Regions from separate parts of the Homo sapiens genome. Here regions 1 and 2 are each linked to region 3. The links are contacts of gene promoters, found by promoter capture Hi-C in blood cells and fetal thymus (Javierre and others, 2016). All regions are on one chromosome and are shown on one strand. Each heading gives the region's core, a stretch centred on a gene start or on the middle of the fragment in contact. The rest is flanking DNA. Distances are from core to core; before and after follow the strand shown.

What was found. Contacts are between HindIII fragments. The CHiCAGO score rates a contact against its expected background, and 5 or more counts as called.
Region 1: a contact is called between a fragment that was not itself captured here and the fragment with the promoter of TMEM237 in region 3, in 1 of 17 cell types (endothelial precursors). The highest score is 6.2, in endothelial precursors.
Region 2: a contact is called between a fragment that was not itself captured here and the fragment with the promoter of TMEM237 in region 3, in 1 of 17 cell types (endothelial precursors). The highest score is 5.2, in endothelial precursors.

The regions. Positions count from the first base shown.
Region 1 is chr2:201,402,183-201,405,816 of GRCh38, forward strand. All of the region lies in intron 3 of TRAK2 (trafficking kinesin protein 2), which reads right to left. Among named protein-coding and RNA genes, the nearest start is that of FLACC1, 47 kb to the left of the region's middle. The HindIII fragment of the contact is 6,322 bases long and covers 1-3,634 here.
Region 2 is chr2:201,438,241-201,442,085 of GRCh38, forward strand. The region is part of intron 1 of TRAK2 (trafficking kinesin protein 2); the gene reads right to left. Among named protein-coding and RNA genes, the nearest start is that of TRAK2, 11 kb to the right of the region's middle. The HindIII fragment of the contact is 1,540 bases long and covers 975-2,514 here.
Region 3 is chr2:201,642,253-201,646,296 of GRCh38, forward strand. TMEM237 (transmembrane protein 237) reads right to left here and starts at 1,251. Exons shown (of 13, transcript NM_001044385.3): 1 at 1,107-1,251. The coding sequence starts at 1,148. It overlaps MPP4 (MAGUK p55 scaffold protein 4), which reads right to left. Exons shown (of 22, transcript NM_033066.3): 22 at 2,622-3,152. The coding sequence ends at 2,958. RefSeq lists silencers at 350-539, 1,110-1,369. The HindIII fragment of the contact is 8,699 bases long and covers 1-4,044 here.

The DNA.
Region 1 (3,634 bases), core at 81-2,580, 240 kb before region 3:
AAACAGAACTGGTAGGTATGAAATGATTCTGACTTTAAATTCTCTGAATTGGCAGTAATTCATAGTTCCATAGTCCCATCTTAACACTTTAGGGTGCCCACGACTGAGTATGAAGGGATATCATTAGATATGTTTTACTTTTATCTGAGCTTATTTTCTCCCTGGCACCACTGACTAAAATGAATCTGGGAATTACCTATAGCTTAATTATTAATAATAGCCTTATTCCTAGTTAAAAGTAAAACAAAGTGCTGGCTTGATGGTATTGGAGATAACTAAAAAAGATTTAAACTGAAAATATAAAAACTTTTCTTAAAAGCTAGAAATAAACATTTGTACTCCAAAAGAATTTATATTTACAAATAGAGAAACTAACAATGATTTAACCACAGTGATAAGGGAAGCAGACTTTTGGGCCTAAGGAATAGACACAATATAATTTGGTAGCATAGCGGGAACAAAGGATTAAATAATTAAGGCAAATACTTACAGTGAATGGTCTCCTTTACTTCTGGTCTCAATAACAAAATTATGGGAAAAATATAAAATCAATATATCCATGCTCTAAACTAATTACAGAAAACCAGACAATGGTTGTAAACCCAAATGTAATATAGAGCAATGGCTCTTAAGTCCAGATTCCGATTTAATTAATTTCAGGGAGCCCTGTGGCGCTGGTAGTATGCAGAAGATTCCCAGGTGTTGAAAATGACCTGGAGCCAGGAATTAAAACCACCAATCTGGGGTTAACACCCAAAGCAAAAATCAGGCATCCTATAGGCTCAGTTAAAATCAGTTTTTATACAACGAGTTTAACAAACACATGACATGACTGACCAGAGTTAAAGATGAAGTGGCAGATTTAACTTGGAGTAAGACCAGTAAGTTAAGGATATAAAAACAACTGTGAACCACAAGTCATATATGATGAAAGGGGAAGAAAAAAATGAAGGACACAGTAATACAGTGAAGAAATGTTTAGAATAAAATATGTTTTAGTGAGGAAAAATGAAAAAATATTTCCTATAAATGCTTACCATCTGTCACAGCATAAAAATTTAAAGCTGAACCTTAAGAAGTTATCTAGTTTAATGATCTCACTTTCTTGTATGAGGAATCTTCTCTGAGAGAAATTATGTGGCATGTTCAAGACCACGAAGAAAGCTATTAGTGGCAAAGCTGGAATTTTAGTATGGAGATGATAATAACGCTCATCTCACAAGGTCATTAGAAAAAACTCAGATGATGTAAGAGTCCAGTAATGAGCTCTTTCCACTGTGCTGCTGTTTCTACCGCAGCCCCACTAAGAACATAAAAAAGACCTTGTCTAATGAAATACCAGCATATACACCTGTGAATGCATGTTATATAATAAAACAGCATAGATCCCAATTTTGCTTTTTAAAGTGTGAGCATATCTATAAATATCTATATTCAACAGAGCCTGAAAGGATATACATTAAAATGTTAATAGTGGTTATCTCTGGGTAAGGACTATGGCTGATCTGTTTTCTTTTCAGCGTTTTGCCAGTTTTCCATAGAACAAATGTTATTTTCCAAACAGAAAAAAAAAAAAAACCCACAAAAACCCAGGAACCTTTGTTAAAAAGTTTCAAAAAGCAAAAATGAACTTTAAAATGCCTAAGTATTTGTTATGGCAAAAAAGTTAGATAGTGCAATCAGAATTTTCAAATTCTTATGTCGAATGCGCAACCTAGATACTACCAATCCACAAAGGCTGGGCCTCTTCAGTTGCACAGAAAGATGTCAGGCACAAAACAGAAAGGAACAATGGATTTTTCCTTTTCCAATGGAAAAGAACAATGGATTTTTCTCTCTGCAGTGGAATCAGTTCTGTCTTCTCTTCCTTAACACAATACTCCTGATAAAGACATGCTGCTTGGAATGATTCCAAAAGTACTCAGGGCAAAACTCTTAAGTGTTTAAAGTCTTGGCATTTAGACATTGTAATTAAATGCTTCAAAAACCACAGACTAGTTCTTCACCATAATTCTGTAGCCAGGAATGTAGAGGTAGCCAAGCAGGTTGTCTTTGTTAAAATCAATCCTATCAAAACCTATTTTCCCGTCAGTTTTCGTTGTTGAAAATATGTTAAATGATACAGAAATTAGCAATGATCCTTGCTTATTTCCAGACATAGACTTCCCTAACTCTCTAAAAAAGTATTTATACATCAGGGAGACGATAGATATTTTTACAGAACAATTTTGCAACTTGGTTTCCAGAGGTTGTTAATTAATGTTCAACATTTTTGGTGTAATGTTTGGAGAATCTAATGTTCCTGAAAATACAGGGTGGGAGTTTAACATACATAAGCACTTCACTAATCCTTACTTTATGTTCTGTCCCTGCATAATTTCACATTAACTAGCTCAATCTCACATTATTTTCAGGATGGGAAACACCAATGATAATCCATTCTAATATCTGTCATTTACATGAGATGGTGCTTGATAGTTCTCTCATATGTCCCTTCTCAAGATCTAAAGTTTTTACCACAACTATAGAATTTCAAAAAGAATTCTAATCTTGCAGCACTCTCCAACTTTCCCACACCAAAACCAACAAAAACAACAACAAAATAGAAATGAAACACAAACAGTGCCCACATGGCATAGTAAAAGCTACAATAGCTCCTGACACCTACAGGCAGGTCTTGAGGTTTTAACCCTAAAGCAGTGACCACAGCCCTTGCTGCTACGATATAGCAAACATTTCTGCCTTCAAAATGACTGAGAGAAACTGATGATACACACCATCTAGGGCAGTCTTTCTCAACAGGATTCCAGGGGAGAATCAGGCCCTACAGACCATTTGAATGACAATTTTCTCAATTCTCCCAAGAATTGTACAAAGCTAGTACATGATGCATGGGTGATAAGGTAATCCACTGTATAAACGCTAAGTGTCTTAGGGTGTATAGCTTAATTCTCTTGTGGAACCGAAGGAGAGAGCTTATCTAAGGGAAAAATAAATCTGCTAACCTCTATGACTGGGTTTATGGTTAATGCTTCCTGAACTTCATCAGTCATATGTTCTTTTCTGCCAGTACAGGTTAATAATTTTTGAGGGCAGAGCCTGAGGAAAAGTATACCTACCAATTGGAAGTAATAATTTCTATGACCATATTTATCTGCAAAATTATACACTCTCTCCGATTCCTTAATTCTCCAATTAATGTCACTGTGAAATGGCCATTTGCTTTGGTTGGCAATGCTTTGTATCAGTGGTTCTCAAACTTGTGTGTGCATCAGTATCACCAGGAAGACTCTTTAAAACACAGGCAGCTATGACTGTCTCACCCTTAGAGTTTCTAATTTTGTAGGTGGAGTAGGGGGCCCAAGAATGTGAATTTCTAACAATTTCTCAAGTGACATTGATTGCAGGGGTCCACAAAGAACAAATAAACTAAAGGGCACTTTCTGTGACGCTTTGTCAAAATAATGACAAACTAAATTTATCCAGATGAAATTTCAGTTTGAAAGTTCTCAGCAATTTAGGCCGGGCGCAGTGGCTCACGCCTGTAATCCCAGCACTCTGGGAGGCCGAGGCAAGCAGATCACAAGATCAGGAGTTCGAGACCAGCCCAATCAACATGGTGAAACCCCGTCTC
Region 2 (3,845 bases), core at 495-2,994, 200 kb before region 3:
ACCAGCTAATGATGGTAAACAATTTATGATAAAGACACAAGGGCCTTCTGTGTTTCAAATGAAATGCATATGATAAAGAAATATGTTCTCAATTCTGTTGCAAATCAGTCTTTCCTAATAATAGTTAGCTGATTGAGTACTTACTAGGTGCCAGGCATCATGTTAAATGCTTTCTGTGTATGATTACCTCCTTTAATCCTCACAATTCCATGAGGTGAATGTTATTACTGTCATCATTTTACAGACAAGAAAATTAAGGCTTAGAGGTTAATTACTTGTCCATACTAAGAGCCAGGAATAAAACCCAACTATGTTTTTCCAAAGCTGAGGCCTCTATCCTCTGAGCTTTACTAGCAAGGGACTGGAGTGTGAGGATAGTAGTGTGTGTGTAGTTTGCAAAAGCCTCAGATAATTCTACTACAATCCTATGTCTCTACTCCACTTTTTAAAAACACATAGTGGTTACTGAATATAGAAGAAGAAGAAAAAAAACAAGTAATCCGCTCCCCCCAACCATTTGTTCTTGAGCAATTTATATTTGCTTTTAGAAATGACTTATCTGGTTCCAGAGTTGGGTGTATTTACAGTGAGGCAGAATAATCTGTGTGTGTGTTGTATGTACATCACACAATTCTTAATGAGACAACTCCAAATCTGACTTTGGTTCTGTTTTTAAGTGGGTAATTCTACAATATCAAGAAAATAATACAGATGTATTACCATAAATTGGGAAGCATTCTGTTACTTGTTTTGAACTGCTAAAAGTAGTAAATGGAACATAGATAAAAAATAAATCTCTATTCCAATAAATTAAGTCTACCTCTATCTTAGTATCTGGCAAATGACAGGCATTCAATAAATATCTGTTAAATGAATGAATCAGGCTGTAGTCAAATTACATCCTTGTAGTCTATAGTAGGGAGGAAAATGAACTGCATAGGAATATGAGACTGTTAGAACATGTGGAAATGGAAAGCTTTCTTAGCCTAATTTACAAAAGTCTACATAGGTCTCTCATGGGTATCAGTAAAGTAGGTGTACGTGCAGGGCTATACCAACTAAGCTCATCGGTTACTCTGAAGGTGCAAACATTCCCTAGAGATGGGATTGACAACATGATGGCAAAAATACCACAGAATCTTTAATACTTTTTTTTTTTGTGGTTTTCCATGGTTTTCTTATTTTAAAAAACATTGATGGTAAGATGTTTTCCTCCTGAAGTTAACACATGATAACGAGGAAAGTCCAATAAACTGCCATGGGAGGAAAAAAAAAGTCCTTAGGCCAGACAGAAAATAATTTGATGACTCAGGATCATTACTAAGAAGAGCAATTACTGTATTATAATATAATGACTACAGTGATATCCTCCAGGATTATAAACTTTTAAAGAGCTTTTTCTGGGTGGTGTAGCCAAGATGGCAAAATAGAAAATAACCTGCTCAAATGTCCAACAATGATAGACTGGATTAAGAAAATGTGGCACATATACACCATGGAATACTATGCAGCCATAAAAAATGATGAGTTCATGTCCTTTGTAGGGACATGGATGAAATTGGAAATCATCATTCTCAGTAAACTATCGCAAGGACAAAAAACCAAACACCGCATGTTCTCACTCATAGATGGGAATTGAACAATGAGAAAACATGGACACAGGAAGGGGAACATCACACTCTGGGGACTGTTGTGGGGTGGGGGGAGGGGGGAGGGATAGCATTAGGAGATATACCTAATGCTAAATGATGAGTTAATGGGTGCAGCACACCAGCATGGCACATGTATACATATGTAACTAACCTGCACATTGTGCACATGTACCCTAAAACTTAAAGTATTAAAAAAAAAAAGTGCCTCTTAAAGAAGAAAAAAGAAAAAGAAAATAACCCGCTCATATGTGACCCCAACAAGTCTGCACCCATCCATAGTTAAAGAGCTCTTTCTCCCTATAGTAAATAATCCCAAATTGCTATTTTTTTTTTAAGATTTTAAGCCCATTTCTAATTTTGTTTCCTCCCTCACTGTGAGGCTATCAACTACTACACTTTACTGTTGCTAGCTTGCCTCTCCCCTTTCTAACTCGCTGTTGGCTGAGAAACCAGATAAGCAGGTTATCAGAACACCCATAAGGTGTCTGTTTGACTGAACTCCAGGACCTGTTTTTCTGCCCTTGGCTGACTTCCCAAATACCTCTTTCTTTCATCCCTCCAGCACCAGGGATTTAGCTGGCTTTCTCCTCCTCCTTTGGCACTGTCAGCAAGTGCTTTTCTCACCTGGTATTCTTTTACCTAGCCTAGCTATGAACATGAACACACTCTGTCCTTTCTTAACTGTCTCCCTAGAAAAGACAGCTCTTCCTCTATTCTTTTGTGAGAATTTTACTGTTAATTGCTAGGGGAAATATAAAGTGGATTATAAATATGGAAAAAAGGTTTAGGAAATCTTAACATCCCTCACTGTAATTTTTGCTTTTAACCCATTTATGCCTACTGTTCCATTATTGGAATGCTAAGCTTGTGGGAGTCATATCCTACTGCTCAAGGTCATCGCCAAAGTCTGATTTTTCACACAAAAAAATTTGCAACCTCTGGCATAAATGGGTTAATCAGTGTTTATTGATTCCCTTTCTTGGATGATCCCAGAAGATGGCTGCCCACTAGTCATTCTTCCCTCACTACACTGCAAGTTCCTCAAAGGAAGGGACCTTATTTTTGTTATGTCCAAAACCTAACAGCAACTGACACACAGTAGTCTTGCAAAATACGTGCCTACTACCTAGAAGCTTAATCATTAAAAATATCAATACACTGAGTTACAGAAGTAATTTAATGAACAAAGTTGATATTAATACATTTTCAATACAACATCAACTAAATGAATTGCCTTGAAAAACACAGTTAAGCTAAGATTGAATATTCTAAAGAAAAACACTTATGTGCTTTATGAAAAAATCTGCATAAAAGAGTTTGGTGTTAAAAGGGTGCTTTATCATTTTTATAGCAATGACACACTATACACTTTTCTGTAATAACTAAAAAGAACTAGTTGTCAGTCTCATAGGAAAGCCAAAACTCAACATTCATTTGGCTCATTGCTTAGTTTTATCACAATTTCCACTAAGAGCATTTGCAGCTGATCATGAATGCATTTAAAATAAGCCCCACATCAAATGAGAAATGGTCAGATATCTTCTTTTAAAAACTCACAATTGCTAATAAAAGCTTCATTTGTAGTCTTTCAATTTTGTAACTAAAAATAAAACAAAGGCAAATTCAGTGGTTTGGCCTAGTACTTGCTGAGAAAGTTAAGAATGGTTGAAATGTTTTTTTAGTTGTTAAATTACATGCTTTGGGAACAGTAGTAGCATCTCAGAAGCATTTTAGTTGGTTTCTAGTCTCTTCCTCCTCCTCCTTTCTTCCTCCAGACAGTGTGCTCTTTCTTTTTTTTTTTTTTAATTTTCTCCCCCGAGACAGAGTCTTGCTCTGTCGACCAGGCAGGAGTGCAGAGGCGCGATCTCAGCTCACTGCAACCTCCGTCTCCCGGGTTTAAGCGATTCTCCTGCCTCAGCCTTCAGAGTAGCTGGGATTACAGGTGTGCTCCACCACGCCCAGCTAATTTTTGTATTTTTAGTAGAGATGGGGTTTCACCACATGTTGGCCAGGCTGGTCTCGAACTCCTGACCTCGTGATCCACCCACCTGGGCCTCCCAAAGTGCTGGGATTACAGGTGTGAGCCACTGTGCCCGGCCGATGGTGTGCTCTTTCTAAACCAACAAACTTCCTTTTGTTTCAACTTACACCACTGGCCTGAATAACCCCAAAGAGAGGTAGGTGCCTATAGTG
Region 3 (4,044 bases), core at 1-2,500:
CAAAAGGGTTAAATTTTAGACACTCTTGTAGTTTGTCCCATTTAGCAATCCATTCGTTCGAACAGTAGATTAATGCAAGTACTACAAGATTAGGACGAGGCAAGCTGCCGTAATACCATCCAGTAGTCAAAATTACAATTGGAGAAGAATGACAGTCACAGGAACGCGCTATTGTTCTAAAGATGCTACGAAGCGCGCGCGATCGATCCCAGGGCTCTGTTCACGTAACTGATTTCAAAAGTCCCGCAAAAATGACGTTCCACCCACCCAGAGACCCAACCTCTAATCCTCAAAAGTAGGACGGCTCAACTGAAGACAAAAATCCTAACAATTAAAAGTAGCTAAGGCTCGCTTACCACAGGATTCTTCCCCATTCTGCGTTTAGCCGGCCTCGGCGGCCGCCGGCCCCCAAGCACCTGGCGCCCCACCCCTCCCGGCTCGGTCGCGCGCGCAGGCGCAATGCGTCATCGGGCCGCGCCGCCTGGCTAGTACCCCGCGCGCAGCGCCCTGCGGGGATGTTGCGGTGAGAGGCGTGCAGGGACCTGGATTGGCCAGTCCAGACTAGCCCTGCCAAAAAGGGGGCCTCGGAGTTGGGGGTAATGTGCCCAGGAGCAGAAATCTGGCGACCGTGGCGCTGCAATCACAGCTTTCCCGTGGTTTCCTAAGTGGTGGCGGTGATTTGTTTGCGGGAAGCGGGGCGTGACGGAAGACCTTAATTAAAGGACTCCGCAGGCGAACAGATCTCTTCTGGGCAGCTACAGACCTCTCCTCGGAGGAGTCTAGGAGAGGCCTGGCTGGAAGCCCCGGCACCCGCCGGGCCCCGGGCCTCAGATGAGTGAGGCGTCGTCGTGGCAACGCGGGCTCAGGTCCCCGCAAACTTCATGCCAGGCCTCTCTCTCCCACTCCGGGAGTTCGGTCCCGGCCTCGCCTGCGTCTCCGTCCCATTCCTGTGAACACTGGAGGGGCGGATGCGCGCACCCCACGAGCAAGGCCCTCCCTTAGTGATTCCCAGCTCGTTGGCGCCCCCCCACACACACCCACCCCCACTGCCAAGTGTAGCTGTTTACCCGCCACCTCTCGAGGCCGACGCGCCCCTCGCCGCTCACCAGGTGGCCCTCCTCCAGCCGAGCCCCCGAGTCAGTCCTCATGGTGCTCTCCCCGCGGGGCTGCCCCGGCGCAACCGCCGGCGGCCCGAGCCCAGCTCCCCGCGACGCAGCGGCCTCCGGGACCTGTGGGACGCCGGGGCTTCGTGGCGCCTGGCGAGGCAGCCGCCCCCTGAGCCAGGTCCCCGCCCGCCTCTGTCCTGCCAGGCGCTGCTGGGTTTGGGAGGAATGCGTTTACTCTCCAGGACCAACGAGTCTGTGCAGGCCTGGGTGTGTGGATGTGTATTAATATAGGCAATTCTCACATTTTCTCCGATTGCTTACCCTTCATCCCACAACTGTGTAAATCAAATTTGGAAAAACTTTTTCTCAACCTTAAAATCAAATCCAACCTCACATAAATATCACTACAAACTACCTGATTTGCATCGTTTGGTTTGGTTGGGTTTGTTTTTTTTTAAAGATAACTTTCACTTTAAGTAACAGAGAACTACAAATATTTTGAATCATGCATTCTGTTTTACAGTTAAGAAAGAAATGGGAAAGATGGAAGAATGGTGTGGATATGGAGAAGAGAATGATGCAGAAGATGAACAGATACAGGGACAGGGAAAGCGCCTGGAAATCTCAAATCTGGGGAAAGAAAGAGAAACAGCACTTTGTAATGGCATCCTAATCTTGTTACCAAACAAACGGGGCTTGTTGCCCTATACGCACAGAAGCCAATATTATGGCGCTGATTTTTTGAGAAAAGTTTTCATTGTGAGTCAGCTAACAAGGAGACAGGAGTATAGCTCTAATCTGTCTCCCTGTGTTGGCTTTAAGACAGTATTTTTATTAGAAAACGTTTAGGGGGTGGATTCTGGGATTAGTAGGTGATTGGTGGAAGGAAAGAAGCCATCTGGAAAATCCTCTGGCGTTCGCAGTTACCTCTTCATGTCCCTTCATGGGTCGCATGTGCAAATTTTGGAGGGAGTCAGTGTGAAACATGGGGAAAGATTCAAGCTGTGACGCCAGCAAGCTCATTTTGTACAGACTCCAGGTAGCCATCCGTGTTAGTACTAACCACTTTCAGCCAGTTTGCTTTGTTTTGTTTTGTTTTGTTTTTTAATCTCACAATGGAAGAAGTTTAGGCGTTTTATTTAGCAAGTTGTTTTTTATCTGCCGTCCTGCATGCTCAAGAATTTCTGTTAGTCCCTGGTTTCTTTAACTCTGAGACACGGTTTCACTCTTGTGATTTTCTATATATAGGTCTCTGGGATTAATCCATTGCCTTTTTCTAATTTAGGCCTGCATGTAGATATTGGCTGTTAAGGAAAATTAGTGTTTGTCACACCTCTCATGAGAATAATTTTTTCCTTGTAGGCCGATTTGTAAATAGTGAAGGCAGTGCAGTTTCTTGTAGGTTTTGATTTTAGATGTGAAATGTGTACATTAAACCTTTCTTGCTGAGTTAGTCAAGTAAGCACTTTTTGTAAAAGATGTTTTCATAAAACACGTTTCATAGAGTACAGTTTCTAAAGTTAACTATTGCTTATTTTATTTAGGAAAGCTCTTTATTTAAATCTTAAAAAGATCATGTGAAATCTGCGAAAGGTTCTCATACTCAGTGACTTAACATTATTCATATTTCTACCACAGCTGCATATGAGGTAAAGGAAAAAAAATTAAGTTAAAATAGGTAACCACATAACCATACAATAAAAATTTTTTTCAAATAAGATTAATTAATAAATTGCTGCACTTTTAAAGTTGTACACATTAAAATGGGTCAAATACTGTTGTTTTAGATTGCAACTATGGATCGCTGTATCAAGGGTACAGTGTTAAAACTCCAGCATTAAACAAGAAGTCTCATTGAGACTCAGTATCTGAGGAAATCCATGTTGCTGGTACCCACTGAGGCTCCTCCTGAGCCTTCTGTATGGCAGACAACAACTGGGCACATGCATCGTGCAAGCTGTCATTCACAATCACATGATCAAAAAATTGGCCAAACTGAGTTTCCATTCTTTGGGCTAAATTTTCCATCTCTTGTAGGTCTTCATCCTTTAGGAGAAATAGAAAAATATGGATAGTACAGACTTAATTGGACAAATGGAAAAAATACAGTTTGTTATGCTGTCACATTCAGTTGTGAAACTATGTATAAAAACAGTAAGGTCCGAAAATTTTGCACAGATGATTTTCAATAAAGTTTCAAAAATATTTTTTCAAAATTCTACAAAACCAGCAAACTAGAAAATAGTAATTTTTTTGCCCTCTGTTATTGAAATAATGTGGCTAAGTATAGATAAAATAATTTTTTTTTTTTTTAGACAGGGTCCCACTCTGTCCCAGGCTGGCATGCAGTAGGATCATCTCAGCTCACTGCAGCCTCTGCCTCCCAGGCTCAAGTGATCCTCCCACCTAGGCCTCCCAAGTAGCTGGGACTATAGGCACATGCCATCATGCCCAGCTAATTTTTGTAGAGAAAATATAATTATTATAACAGGTATAAACATATCCTTCTAAATTAATGTGAAGCATAAGCAAAGCTGGGAAAAGTATATCACTATCCACAGTATGTCATCCTTTATTTCTTAGAAATGTATTACTGAGATAAAGAAATTTTAATTTGGAAGTTTTTTTAAATAATAAAAGACTGAAGTTTTTATTTTAAAAAATGAGGTCCAATAAATGTCTTCTAAACTACAAAACTTATGTTTTAATCTTTAGTCTTAATGTCTCGTCATGTTTTGCAAAATTTAGTCATAGTTTGCAGACAGATTACTCCCCTCAACTTCCCGTGTGAACTTATCTTACTCTTACCTAAACACTTGAAACTTTTTAACCATATACAACATAAAACCAAAGAAAATGTACCAGTTTAAATAAAATTTAAACATAAATTTCAAGTGAACATTAATCTGATAGGGATAACATTAAAGATACAAAATGG